2 separate regions of the Homo sapiens genome follow, and region 1 is linked to region 2. Evidence: promoter capture Hi-C in human tissues and cell types (Jung and others, 2019). All regions are on one chromosome and are shown on one strand. The core of a region is centred on a gene start or on the middle of the fragment in contact, and the rest is flanking DNA. Distances in the headings are between cores, read along the strand shown.

Region 1 (2,700 bases), core at 89-2,588, 35 kb after region 2:
TATAAAGTGGTGTCGCATTGTCATATAAACTATGCACATCCTCCTCTGCACTTTAAATCATCTAGATTACTTATAATACCTAATACAGTGCAAATGCTATCTAAATGGCTGTTATATTGTATCTTTTATTTTATGTTTTATTATTATATTGCTATACTTTTATTTTTATTTTAAATGTTTGTGGGTTTTATTGATGGGTTTTTTCTCCAAATATTTTCAATCTGCAACTGGTTGAATCTGTGAATGCAGAACCCATGAATACAGAGAATCGACTGTATGTCACTTCCCAACTTGGCCATAAAAACCTCCCACACATTGTCTTTGGCCTTCTCTTCTTTGTCTACCAGCTGAATGACACTTTGGGTGACCTTGAGAGGTTTGGGTTAAAGGTCGTACAACCCCTACCAGCCTAGGTTCTTGAGTGGCTGCCAACCACATGAAACTGGGGTATGAGAATAGGCCATTGAGATCAAGGGGTTGTTTGTTATGGCAGCCATTAATTTACTCCATTTCCTACAATCTGTCTCACCTCCTGGAAAATAAAAATTAAATCACATCTTTTTTTTAATCCAACTAATGGCTCAAGGCCTCACCTGTCTTATTAGTAGGAAGTTCATTCTCTCTCACACAATGCCAGACCCCATCTCCATCCCAAATTTTCCAAGAACTTCCCAGGAAAACTCAGTCAAAAGGACTCCTGCTTCCAAAAAGCCATGTGTGAAGAGAGAAAATTAAAAATCTGACTAATCCTTGTTTTCGGTCATTACCATGCAGTTGGTCCCATATAATCTGGTGGGCCTGTGTCTTCCGCCCACTGCTGCAGTGATGCTGCTGCAGGTCTGACTTCTGCCATGCCAAGGTTAGCTTCCCTACTTGTGCTCCAAGGTCATTGTTCTCTTTGTTCATTCTCACATGCTCAGCTCTTGATCCCCAAAACACAGTGGTCTAGGATGGTTGGATCCAGAGAAGCTTCCAGCCCCAGCATGTTGCATCAAATCAAAACTCCCACGCAAACCCCAGTGCTGAGCCTACAGCATCAACACAGGTACCCCTTTCCCTCATGGTAGGATTCCTTAGGGGCTTCTAATATTCTTCTATGCAGATGAATCATGGTCAATATGATCATCCTGAACCACAAAAATAGGTTTCTTTAATTGCAAATCTCAGAGAGCAAAAGACAGGATCTCATTGGGCATGGTGGCTAACACCTGTAATCCCAGCACTTTAGGAGGCCAAGGTGGGCAGATCACCCAAGGTCAGGAGTCCGAGACCAGCCTGGCCAACATGGTGAAACCCTATCTCACTAAAACTACAAAAATTAGCCAGGCATGGTGGTGGGCACCTGTAATCCCAGCTACTCAGAAGGCTGAGGCAGGAGAATTGCTTGAACCTGGGAGGCAGAGGTTGCAGTGAGCCAAGATCACACCACTGCACTCCAGCCTGGGTGACAGAATGAGACTCCGTCTCAAAAACAAAACAAAAGACAGGGTCTCATTCCTTCCTTTCCTGAAAGCCCCTTGCTCTGGATGAAAATCTGTCTCTACCCAGGGGAGAGTAGTCTGCCTCAGGAAACACGTAATAGGTTCCTACACTCACGATCTCTGCATTGTTAAGCAGAGCATTCAGTTAACTTCTTAGAACAGAGACTCTACTCCAAGGAAACCTTCTGCCTCTGTCTATATAAAGGCTAGCAGTTCATCTTGAAAATGCACACACTATCTCATTTAAAACTGTAAGTAAATGCTACCATCGTTCTCAGTTTGCAGATGAAGAACCAGAGATTCAAAGAGACGGGGTGGCTTGCCTGCAGCATCACACCTAGCAGATGGTCAGCCAGGACCATCTAATGCCAAAGCCTAAAGCTTGTACCTAAACCCACCTCCCCGTCAGCCCCGTGAATCCACCAGGTACGTTTCACATTTCTCTTCCCCACCCTACCCCTTTCCTAGGGTTTTCCTTTTCCCCTTCCCAGCTTCTCTGCTCCCAAGTGATCTTATGTCTCCTGACCGTGCTACTTACGCTAAGTCAGCAGGAATGTCAGCATCTGAAAGCTGCATCTTAGGAGTAACTCCCTCTTGCAAAGCTGGGGTAGAGTCATGGACAGAGCCCAGATTTTTAAGCCCAATAGATGGGAGCTCAATTCCCAGGCTTGCCATTTACTAGCTGTGTGGCTTTGGCAAGACACTAATTGTTTCCACTTTTTAAATAAGGACTTCACAGGCGCTGACAGAAATTGATGATTGTTGCATTTTCCTGCTAAATCAATCTATGCTTTGTTCCTTCTGCTTCCCTCACATCAAACCAACAGATATGGCCGGGCGCAGTGGCTCACACTCTAATCCCAGCACTTTGGGAGGCCAAGGTGGGAGGATCACTTGAGGTCAGGAGTTCAAGACCAGCCTGGCCAACATGGTGAAACCCCATCTCTACTGAAAATACAAAAAATTAGCCAGGCATGGTGGCGTGCACCTGTAATCCCAGCTACTTGGGAGGCTGAGACATGAGAATCACTTGAACTTGAGAGGCGAAGGCTGCAGTAAGCCGAGATTGTGCCATTGCACTCCAGCCTGGGTGACAGAGTGAGACCATGTCTCAAAATGTGTTTATGTATCTATGTATATCTGTGTGTGTGTGTAAAACTCAGAGGTCTATAAGAATTTTAATATTTTATGTGGAGGGTAGGCCCTGGCTATAAAAAGT
Region 2 (2,700 bases), core at 57-2,556:
AAGAAAAGAAGTGAGGAAGGGAGGAGGTAACAGGAAGAAGTGACTTAATCTAAAAAACATTTATCAACATGTTCTCCTTTGCATTTGCACTTGGTTTGAGGCTTCATATTACCCAAGCCCATGATATTGTTGGATATCATGAAGCCAATCAAGTTCTCTAAGACTCTGCGAGACTATCTGACCTCTGTCCTTCAAACATTACACCAGCATACCAAGTGTCTTTGGCTACTAAGCAGAATCACAGCAGCAGTATCATTAAGCCTTTATATTTGTTTCTGTCATTCTTGAATATCCCACTAAAATCAAAATCCATTTCAAGAACAGAGAGTAATCAGACATACATTTTGTATCACTTTTTCATCCCTAAGCTCTTTTTTCACTCCCTCCCTGGATTCTCCTTTTTGCTCCACAATCTTCTTATGGCGATTTTCACCTCTGCATTCCTGAGTGTGTAAATGATGGGGTTCAGCATGGGGGTGATGACCGTGTAGAATACAGCCACAAGTTTATCTTCAGTGAAAGTGGAAGAAGGTCGCATGTAGAGGAAGATAGCAGGTCCAAAAAACAAGATGACCACTGTGATGTGAGAAGCACAGGTGGAGAGGGCTTTGTGCCTCCCCTCTGCAGAATGGTTCCTCAAGTTGACCAGAATGACAATATAAGAGGACACCAAGATGAGGAAGGAGAAGACAGAGAATAATCCACTGTTGGCCAACACAATAACCCCCTCCATGAAGGTGTCAGTGCAGGCAAGCTTGAATAAAGGCTGGAGGTCACAGAAATAGTGGTCAATCACATTGGGACCACAGAAGGGCAATTGGATGATAACGAGAATCTGAATTATGGAGTGACAAAAGCCCCCCAGCCAGGAACCAGCCACCAGAAGGTGACACAGTTGACGACTGATAATGTTCATATAATGAAGAGGCTTGCAAATGGCCACGTAGCAATCATAGGCCATCACCACAATCAAAAGGATCTCAGCAACCCCAAAGAAGTGGAAGAAGAATATCTGAGTCAGACAGCCTTCCAGAGAGATGGTTTTAATCTTGGCAAGTAAGTCTATGATGAATTTAGGGGCGATAGTGGAGGAATAACTGATCTCCACCAAGGACAGGCAGCTAAGGAAGAAGTACATGGGAGAATCCAGACTCTTGCTGATACTGACCGTCAGAACGATGAGGCCATTGCCCACCACCGTGGCAAGGTACACGGGGAGAAACACCACAAAGCATACACTCTGCACAGCTGGATCCTGGAAAAGGCCAGTGAAAATCAACTCAGTCACATTACTTGTACTGGCCATGGATTCCACTCAGAGAAGACAGATCTCAGAGAAGAGCCCTGTGACAAAGCACATGCAATCATAACGCTAATCCTTCATGTTTATTTAGCACTTGCTTGTTAATAAAACCCTTTTATGCATATTTTCTGACTCATTTGTTTATTTATTTATATAGTCAATGTTTATTCATTTGGTGCTCAATAGCCTACCCTATGCAAGACACTGGTCAAGCAGCCCCACAAAAACTCTATGATCCCCATATAACAAGTAAGAAAACTGAGGCTCAGAGAATTTGTGAATTAGCCAAGCCTCCCAGGTCATATTATTCCAACTCATACATTACTTTAAGTAAAAAAAATTACCGCTTTCAGCATGAAAACCATTTATATTAATTACTAACATTTCTCCTATTCTCCATTTTCTCTGGTCATGTCTTTGTGTTAGAGATTGTATAGTGACCTTCTGCTCCTGACTCTTTTGTTTCCTCCATTTATTTACTCCCCAGAAATGCCAATCTAAGTGAAACATCTCCATTTTAGGGAATATCTTTGATGTTTTCATTACATGAACTATGTAAGTTTCTGAATTCTTTCAGACCCTATGGTTTTTGCCCAGTCCTATAGCTTCATGAATTTTACAACCATTTTGAGAAAATGTTGGCAGCTGAGAGCTAAGTGAACATCCAGAAGTTGTTTGGAGAATAGCTCCCTATCAAACAATAGTTTGAATATAACATATGGACAACACCACTTTGCTTGTTTCTGTCTTCCAGTTTGCTTGCCATTAGCAAACATTTTTGTCAGCAGAAGGTGCAGGATTTCTTTTAAAATAACTCTTTAAACCAAAGATTTTATTAAGTACCTACCACAGGCCTAGGCAACTCAGGACATAGGAAAGGAGAATGGAACATGGTTCTAGCCTGAAGAGGCTTGTAACTTCAAATGATTAAACAACACATTTATGAAAAGAAGGAGAGAAAAACTTCAAGATTTTCTCTGCTTTCAAAACTATGTTGAAGTATCTCGGGCCGGGAGCAGTGGCTCAGGCCTGTAATCCCAGCACTTTAGGAGGCCGAGGTGGGTGGATCAACTGAGGTCAGGAGTTCAAGATCGGCCTGGCCAACATGGTGAAACCCCATCTCTACTAAAAATACAAAAATTAACCGGGCATGCTGGTGGGCACCTGTAATCCCACCTACTCAGGAGGCTGAGACAGGATAATCACTTGAACCCGGGAGGTGGAGGTTGCAGTGAGCCAAGATCTCACCATTGCACTCCAGCCTGGGTGACAAGAGCAAAACTCCGTCTCAAAAAATATTAAATAAAATAAAATTATTTTGAAGTATCTCTTATTCACCTTACTTTTCCTTCTTCCACTTGTGCTTCCATTTGAAAATATTCAATACTTTTTCCTCC

What was found. Contacts are between HindIII fragments. The study calls those that stand out against the background at their distance.
Region 1: a fragment that was not itself captured here is called in contact with the fragment with the promoter of OR4B1 in region 2 in 1 of the 25 tissues and cell types used here (spleen).

Annotation. Positions count from the first base shown.
Region 1 is chr11:48,180,167-48,182,866 of GRCh38, reverse strand. No RefSeq gene overlaps it. Among named protein-coding and RNA genes, the nearest start is that of OR4B1, 35 kb to the left of the region's middle. The HindIII fragment of the contact is 3,592 bases long and covers 1-2,700 here.
Region 2 is chr11:48,215,416-48,218,115 of GRCh38, reverse strand. It overlaps OR4B1 (olfactory receptor family 4 subfamily B member 1), which reads right to left and starts at 1,306. Exons shown (of 1, transcript NM_001005470.1): 1 at 377-1,306. The coding sequence starts at 1,306. The coding sequence ends at 377. The HindIII fragment of the contact is 4,187 bases long and covers 1-2,700 here.